Linked DNA regions of Homo sapiens: region 2 is linked to region 1. The links are contacts of gene promoters, found by promoter capture Hi-C in human tissues and cell types (Jung and others, 2019). All regions are on one chromosome and are shown on one strand. The core of a region is centred on a gene start or on the middle of the fragment in contact, and the rest is flanking DNA. Distances in the headings are between cores, read along the strand shown. Region 1 holds the start of PANK1 (pantothenate kinase 1). Region 2 holds the start of LOC124902477 (a long non-coding RNA gene).

Region 1 (4,414 bases), core at 1,226-3,725:
TGATGAACAAGTCATCTGCCTTAAAGATGCTTACAGTGAAGTGGGGTAAGATGGGCAATCAAATAATAATAATGTCTTTTTCTAGCACTTACAATGTGCTGGACACTTTACATATGTTAACCTTAAATAATGAGATTTAGAGAACATGATTAAGTATGAAGTTTGAGTGCAAAGCTTGAGGATAGCCACCTGGAAACACTAACTCCAAATGAGTGGGATCAGTGCTCCAAAGTGGAGAAGTTAAGATTTCACTTATACTGGCAGAGATGGAGAAGTTCCAGCAGAATTACATTTTCCATACAAGACCAATGCATATGCCACAGCGATTTGATTGGTTGCAGACTGCTGCATTCCAAGGAAGATTATTACTCTGTGAGGAGAGGCAGTGATCCAAGGGATTAGTATCTCTGGCCCTGCTCGGTCTTCCTAATTATTTACAAGGAAAAAAGGCAAGCCCAGGCATGGTGGCTCATTCCTATAATTCCAATACTTTGGGAGGCCAAGGTGGGAGGATCGCTTGAGCCCAGGAGTTGGAGGCTACAGTAAGCTACGACTGTGCCACTGCACTCCAGCCTGGGTGAAGGAGTGAGACCTTGTCTTAAAAAAAAAAAAAAAAAAAGCAGAAGTTGTAGCTGCATAGCCACATTTCTCTCAAGTCTCACAAAAAAGTTCCAATAGCTTGAAGTTTGAATTAATTTTACGCATGTGTTATGCATTTCATCAGTCTAACAACTCAGTGATGTCCTATTATTCTCAAGTTACAAATGAGGGAACAGATGCATGGTATAGTTACAAAATGATAAGGAGTCATAAACAGAGTACAAGGAGTAGGAAGAGGGTATGGCAGGGAGACCTAATGTAGCCCTAAGGGTCAGGGAACATTTCTCTAAATATGAGAAGTTAAAGAGGAGATCTAAAGTTGGAGTCTAGTAGACAAAAGAGGTCTTAGAGAAGAGACTTCTCTAAGGCAATGGAAACAGCAGAATGTTGTTTAAGGAATTGAAGGCAGCACAGGGAGCCCCTGATGAGGCAGGAGAGGTAGGGAGGGGCCAGATCACCTGGGTTTTTTTCTCTGTCTTTAAATAGCATAAGGTTAGGGAAGCTAAGAGAGTTGAGATTTGGAGTTTAGTCCCACCTTTGCTCTTAATAACCTCAGCCATCTGTCTGCAGCTCAGTTTCCTGATACGAAAAAAGTATGCAAGAGTGGATAGACCAGAGTGCTCCAGTGGCCCCCATGGTTCTCAAGCTCTGATTCTAGGTAAGGCTCTGCTGGAAGGAATTGCCAGATGCAAGCCCTAGATGCTGCTGAATGCACTGAAGCCCAGGGGCCCAGCAACCCAGTAGCCAGCCAGCACCTGCCAGACTCTGACTCCTCTGTAGATTAATTGCAAATCACGGAGAATATCACAAAATAAATCACACAATAAATACGGCTGTAAGCATGGTTTGTTCCCCTGTCGAAACAAAGGGTGAACTGCTAATCATAATAGCGTAATAAGGAAAACTAGCTTTCTGAGCATTTACTGTGTGCCAGGATTGTACCAGGTACTTTTAGTAGATTTTCTCACAACAGCCCCATTATGGATAGGAAAGTGAGGCCTCAAGAGATTGCATAACTTTGGGAAGGTATTCACCACCCAAATTAGTCCTGCATAGTGAGCATGGACAGTCCCGTTTCCTATTGCTAGAAGTGTTACCTTGAGCATTAACGTTATCTGGGTTTGCTCAGTGGCTGAGTTGGAATTTGAACCCAGTGCTAACTCCAAAGCTCGTAGTGCTGGTCACCACGTGATGCCGCCTTCCCTTCTTAGAAGAGGCAACTCCTTACTCTATAAATAACATGACATTGTCTTTTGAAGTCCTTTCTGGGTGAGGAAAGTGCTTTTTATAGCATGGAATTGCTCCTGTTTACTTGATCTCTTTCAGCACCGATTAATCCTGCCTACAGTTTTGTCCTTCACTGTCCTTACACTGTATTCCTAGGTTTCCTCCCTGCAAAAGACAACTCCATGAGACCACATGGTGTTTGAGTGTGTGTGCGTGCCAGCAAAGAAATTTCACTCCCCTCCCTCCCCAAGTCTGCCAACTTTTCTATAAATAATTGTTCTCCCTCCCCTCAGGCCTCTAAGTAGTTTGGTCACTTAACCAAACGCACAGGCACACACGCGCGCGCGCGTAAGCACACACTCACAAAGCGGGGAGGGTAACGTGAATGACCTTGCAAAGGTATCTTGCTCACTGGGGACAGGATTAGCAAACCTGACACCTCTGCAAATAATTGTCTTCCTCCCGTATTCCTCCTGAAACGGTTCGCTCCTTTCGCTGTCTCTCCCAGACCCATCTGGTTTTCACATCGCCATACAAAGCCCAACCCGCCCATCTCCTCTCTGCAAGCCCAGAGAACTTGATTCCCCATGTTGAAACTCGTCGGTGGCGGTGGCGGGCAGGACTGGGCATGCTCAGTGGCGGGGACCAGTCTGGGAGGCGAGGAAGCCGCGTTTGAAGTCGCGCGGCCTGGGGATCAGGGGAAGGCGGGCGGCGGGAGCCCCGGCTGGGGGTGCGCGGGGATCCCCGATTCCGCGCCCGGGGCTGGCGTGCTCCAGGCCGGCGCCGTGGGGCCGGCGCGCGGGGGGCAGGGCGCAGAGGAGGTGGGGGAGTCGGCAGGAGGAGGGGAGGAGCGCCGGGTTCGCCATCCCCAGGCGCCGGCTCTGCGGCTGCTGAATCGGAAGCCGCAGGGAGGATCCGGGGAAATAAAGACGCCGGAGAATGACCTCCAGCGAGGCCGCCTGAGCCGGGGCCCGCGCACAGCCCCGCCAGCCCCCGGCATGGGCGACCGCAGCGGGCAGCAGGAGCGCTCGGTCCCGCACTCTCCAGGGGCCCCCGTGGGCACCAGCGCCGCCGCTGTGAACGGGCTGCTGCACAACGGCTTCCATCCGCCGCCAGTCCAGCCGCCGCACGTCTGCAGCCGGGGTCCAGTGGGCGGCAGCGACGCGGCGCCCCAGCGCCTCCCGCTCCTGCCGGAGCTGCAGCCGCAGCCACTGCTCCCTCAGCATGACTCCCCGGCCAAGAAATGCCGGCTGCGGAGGAGGATGGACTCGGGGAGAAAGAACAGGCCGCGTAAGTCCCGCTGGGAGGGGAGCGCGGGCGCAAGGCAGACGCAGCGTGCGGGGCCCGGGACTGGGAGCGGCTGAGGCAGGCGCCGCAGCACGCCCCGTGCGCCCCCGCGTCTGCGGTCGAGGGACTGCACAGAGTAGGTTCCCGGGACTGATTCTTTTCCTAGGGGACATCAAGCACTACAGGTCTTTGCCTGAGCCTGCCCTTTGCTCGCTTCTATCAGTAGAACGAGGATTGGACACGAAGCTTGAGCGGGTCCCTAGGTCAAGGATATATAATAAGCGAACGCTCTGTCCGCCCTTCTAATTGGTGGCTGGGAAAACGCAGGTGTGTGAACATTTGCTGGGGTCCAGGAGTGAGGATAAAGTGGGCGGCACACCGAGGGTGCTCTCTCCTTTCTCACCCCTCTCGCTTCTCTGAGCGCGTCCTACTGGGGTTGCCTGCCCTTTGAATCACAGAGTAGCCAGCAGCGTCTCGGGTCTATTGGAGAGCGCAAGTCTGGAGGCGTGGAGTTTAACTACCCCCCAAAATCACAGCCTATTAGAAGCTGTTTCTTCACGGCCAATGAGAGGGTTTTTTGGGAGGGACACACCCACTGATACCATGTGGGCCGGAACTATGTGGACCAATGAGGATTGGAGGTGGATTTTTTTTTTCAACGAAGGGGGAGGTTGAGTTGAGGGTTTGTAATTGTAATGTACACCGGAGAAAGCCGAAGTGCATTATTTCACAATCTAAAGCTTGTATATATAATGGTAGTTTGTAAAGTGTACCTTCCCCACAGGACGCTGTGGGATGTAAATTTGTAGGTCGAGTTTACAGCTGGTTTTTCTTGACTGAAGCTCATTCAACTGGTTACTTCTTTGTGGGTGTCTTTAATGAAGCTTATAAATGGCAAAAAGCAAAGTAAGTACAGTAAATGCTAATAAATGACTGCATTTGCATAGAGGTTATGCTGTTCGATATAGGGAAATTGTTAAGTAGGTTTTGGATTTCTGTGAAAGTTTAATGTTTGGCAAATAACACCTTCACTTTTCCCTGTTTCTATGTCTTTTTGACTCTTAGCTTTTCTGTATTGGATTAAGGTTTCTAAGACCTTGGAAAGCCCTTTGACATGACTGTGGGTGACTCTGGTACTTGTATTTTGTGGGTTTGAAATGTTAAATTTGTAGGTTAAGATTTTGTGTGGAACTTTAAAGCCAAACAGCAGATTTGGCTACAGTTGTAAGGTGTAAGGTTGTAATCTAGCACCTGAATTTTTATTTGCTTTTGTTTTTGATACTTGTTAGAAAATGACTTT
Region 2 (4,414 bases), core at 1,250-3,749, 360 kb after region 1:
CCGGAATTTAATTTTTGGAGTTTTATTTAATGTTGGGAGCAGATTGGGTAATAAAACGTATATTGAGAATAAGACGGCCTTTTGACCTTTCAGGGTCTAGGGCTGTAAAGCATCTCAGGGTTGATGCCAAACAAGCCATGAACTGGGCTGGGTTTTTATATTTGATGAAAAAGAGCCTAAACGCTAACTGATTTGGGAGAGGTTGGATAAAGAAAAAGGAGCATTAACCTTGACTATGCCTTTAGCTCCAGCCACCTTTTTAAGAGGAAATTGCTGGGCAGGTCCGGGAGGGCTAGTCGCAGAACGAAACTGGAAGCTGGACTGGGTGTGAGGAGGGGAGGTGATAGAAGGATTATAGGGTGGGGGAGCGGAGGCTAAGGGAGAATTGGAACTGGCTCGGCCTGGCTAGGAGCAGCCTGGGGAGGAGGGGAGAGGTCAGATGGGTCCGTAGAAAAGGAAGATTGGAAAGACTTAGTGACACTTGGGGTTGGAACTGAGGGGACAGGCAGGAGGGAAAGAAGGAAGATTTGGGATGAGTTGCATTGGGAACAGAGATTAGGGAGGGACGAGGGACCGATGTGTAAAAGAATGCCTGGACGTCAGGCACCTCAGACCATTTGCCCATTTTTCGACAAAAATTATCTAGGTGTTGTAGGATGGAGAAATCAAAAGTGCCATTTTATGGCTCTTTGGAACCACTGTCGAGTTTGTATTGGGGTTAAGTGGCATTGCAGAAGAAAATAAGGCATTTGGGTTTTAAGTCGGGTGTGAGTTGAAGAGGTTTTAAGTTCTTGAGAACACAGGCTAAGGGAGAAGAAGGAGGAATGGAGGGTGGAAGTTTGCCTATAGTGAAGGAGGCAAGTCCAGAGAAAAGAGAGGGTAGAGACACAGAGAGAAGGGGTGGGGGGTTCTTGCACCCCAGGAACATGGGGAAGGGGTGGGGTGTTTGTCCCCCAGGGAAGTGGAGAGAAAAGAGAGGGTAGAGACACAGAGAGAAGGAGTGGGGGGTGCTTGCCCCCCAGGAAAGTGGAGAAGGGGTAGGGGGTCCTTGCCCCCCAGGAAAGTGGAGAGAAAAGAGAGGGTAGAGACATGGAGAGAAGGGGTTGGGTGAGCAGCCCTGGGCTGCAAATGTGGGTGAGCAGCCAAAGCAGGTGTCCCCACAATTGCCTTGCCACTAAGGGAATGTGGGTGAATGACCAAGGCAGGCATCCCCACGGTGATCAGACACCAATGAAATGTGGGTGAATAATCAGGCAGGCATCTCTGCAGTGATTAAACACCAAGGGAAGACTGTCTTCCCGAATCTGTGACCAGCACTGGAGTTTTGAGTCCACAGATAAAACACATCTCCCGTATCTCTACCAAAAAAGGAAAGGAATTGAAATTAAGAGAAGGGAAAGATTGAAGTGTGGTGCCGAGATTGAAAGGAGAAAGAGGTTGAGGGATAGTGAGAGAGATTGGAGAAGAGAGTAAAGACAGGCCACTTACCCGATTTAAAATTGGTGAGATGTTCCTTGGGCTGGTTGGTCTGAGGAGCAGAGGTCGTAGGTGGATCTTTCTCTTGGAACAAAGAGCAGGAGGACAGGGGATTGATCTCCCAAGGGAGGTTCCCCGATCCGAGTCACGGCACCAAATGTCACTCGCGTCCATGTGAAGAGACCACCAAACAGGCTTTGTGTGAGCAATAAAGCTTTTTAATCACCTGGGTGCAGGCGAGCTGAGTCCAAAAAGAGAGTCAGTGAAGGGAGATGGGATGGGCTGTTTTTATAAGATTTGGGTAGATAGTGGAAAATTACAGTCAAAGGCGGATGTTCTCTGGCTGGCAGGGGTGGGGGGCACAAGGTGCTCAGTGGGGGAGCTTTTGAGCCAGGAAGAGCTGGGAGAAGGAATTTCACAAGGTAATGTCATCAGTTAAGGCAGGGACAGGCCATTTTCACTTCTTTTGTGATTCTTCAGTTACTTCAGGTCATCCGGATTTATACGTGCAGGTCACAGGGTATATGATGGCTTAGCTTGGGCTCAGAGGCCTGACATATAGCGTATACAGGTGTACACAGAAGCATAATGTTTAAATATTTTAATTTCAGTGGGTGATATAAGGGGCAGTATGATTTTTTTTCGCTTATACTTGCTGGCATTTTTCCAAAGTTTCTTTAGTGTGCCTATAGTATTCATATCCTGAGAAAAATCTTTCATGATTCTAATCTTTTTATTATTATTATTTTTTAAAGATCACTGAGAACTAAGAGCAAAATGCAAAGGGAGATCTTTTTGAGGTCTGATCAAGCCCAGCTTCACTGGAGGCTTTTAGGGGCCTCAGAGGTGTAGATGCTGGTTTAGTGCCTGACTGTGGCTCCTTAGAAAAGAACCAGCTAAATGCAGCCTGTCCTTTGCTAGAGCTGCCAATGCTGAGCTCTGACACAGAGAAACCCTGCCTCTATGATGAATATAGCCTCATGCTCCTGACTTTCAAATGAAAAACAGAAACACACATGCTTGTTAAGAACGTTTCAGCCTGGTTTGCATCATTAACTGATGAAAATGTGCCTGCAAGGACAGAATGAAATAGATTTGCCCCTCCTCCTCCAGCAACCCCTCCTATGAGGGACGTTCGTCTCTGGCTCCAGGCTCTGGCCACTTCCTGGTTAGGATTGCTAAAGGCTTCCATCAGGGAATGTTGATATGAGTCTGGAAGCGCCACAGATTTTAAAATGCCTGAATTAACAAGAAACAAGTATTCTCTAAGATATGTTAAATATTTAAGCAGATGCCCAAATCCAGCACCTAAGAAAATCTACCTTGAGGTTTTCAAAGGCACACAACATAATTTCAAGGGATAAATGCAAGAAAAAATCCTTTACCTCATGGTCGCAGGCTGGGCGCTGCACTGGTGTCCTGCAGTGTTCTGGCAAAGGCTGATTTGCTGCTTAGAAATCTGCCTGAGCTGATGGCAGATTCAGAGGAAAGGAAGCACTGTGCTGCTGATGAAGGATACCTTTATGTGTACTTGCAAATATGAAATGGAAGTGTATCCTGGCAAGTACAAACAACATAACTACACTGGTTTCCTGCTGGAGGGAAAGGAGATTTCAGCAGGGAGAGCTTTAATCTTTCTGGCTGGGCACTCAACTGGAACAACGTTTAGGGGGAATAGTGTGTAAGGAAGTTCAAGGTAGATGAAAATTTACTAGAAGGAGGATTAGCAATGTAGTGGTCAGAGAACCAGAAATCTAAAAATGACCACAGGACTAGGGTGGATTCCGGAGAACTGTTGTCATCACTAGCTAATATTAATAGTGACATCAGTAGCTAATGTTAAAAGAAAAACCTTAGACAAATTAAATTTAGTAGAGTTTAATTGAGCAAAGAATTATTCACCAATCAGGCAGACTTCCGAGCCAGAGTGGCCTCAGAGAGACTCCGGTGCAGCTGCCTGGTAGAAGATTTATGGACAGAAAAAGGAAAATGACCTATAAAAAACAGAAGTGAGGTACAGAAATGGAAGTGTTGGTTACAGCCCAGCATTTGCCTTATTTTAACATGGTTTGAATGGTTGGCCACCTTTGATTGGCCAAAACTGTGAGTGGCACAGGAGTAGGTTACAGTCTGTTTACACATCCAGTTAGGTTATAGTTTACTATGTACAGAAAAACTGTCAGGGTGAACTTAAAATATGCAAGGAGGCAGCTTTAAGTGAAACTTAATTCAACACTAATATTGATTGAGAATTTTTGCTCAGGGCTTTATAGGACTTACCTAATTTACTCCATTTTACACTCATGTGAAATATGGCCATTTAACAGATGAGTAAGAGAAGATTCAGAGAACTTAAGTGATATGCCCAAGGACAGAAGTCCAGGTCTGCCCAATTCTAGAACTTCCCTTGTTCAGTGTGTTCCTTAAGTGCAGCAAGTCTCTGGATCTAAACTATATAGTTTCTGATTTCAACTCTGAAATGCACTGCTTGTGTGAACTTGCATCCGTTCTTCATCTGTAAAGAGTGGTAGCACCTATTTCATAGGCTTGTTGTGAAGCTCTTAGAATAGTGCCTGGCACATAATGGATTCGATGAAAGTATCTGTTTTCTTTCTTTCTTTTTTTTTTATTTTTTTGAGACGGAGTTTCGCTCTTGTTACCCAGGCTGGAGTGCAATGGCACGATCTCGGCTCACCGCAACCTCTGCCTCCTGGGTTCAAGCGATTCTCCTGCCTCAGCCTCCTGAGTAGCTGGGATTATAGGCATGCACCACCATGCCCGGCTAATTTTTTTGTATTTTTAGCAGAGACGGGGTTTCTCCATGTTGGTCAGGCTGGTCTCAAACTCTCAATCTCAGGTAATCTGCCTGCCTCAGCCTCCCAAAGTGCTGAGATTACACGCATGAGCCACCATGCCCGGCCAAAAGTATCTGTTTTCA

What was found. The method cuts DNA at HindIII sites, captures the fragments that hold promoters and counts their contacts. A contact is called where the count stands out against the background at its distance.
Region 2: a fragment that was not itself captured here is called in contact with the fragment with the promoter of PANK1 in region 1 in 1 of the 25 tissues and cell types used here (dorsolateral prefrontal cortex).

Annotation. Positions count from the first base shown.
Region 1 is chr10:89,643,303-89,647,716 of GRCh38, reverse strand. It overlaps PANK1 (pantothenate kinase 1), which reads left to right and starts at 2,475. Exons shown (of 7, transcript NM_148977.3): 1 at 2,475-3,117. The coding sequence starts at 2,826. It overlaps PANK1-AS1 (PANK1 antisense RNA 1), which reads right to left and starts at 3,603. Exons shown (of 5, transcript NR_184344.1): 1 at 3,518-3,603. RefSeq lists silencers at 2,472-2,951, 3,652-3,701. The HindIII fragment of the contact is 3,851 bases long and covers 1-3,607 here.
Region 2 is chr10:89,282,339-89,286,752 of GRCh38, reverse strand. It overlaps LOC124902477 (a long non-coding RNA gene), which reads right to left and starts at 3,079. Exons shown (of 3, transcript XR_007062233.1): 1 at 2,862-3,079; 2 at 1,489-1,671. It also overlaps a transcript of LIPA not described here. The HindIII fragment of the contact is 7,397 bases long and covers 1-4,414 here.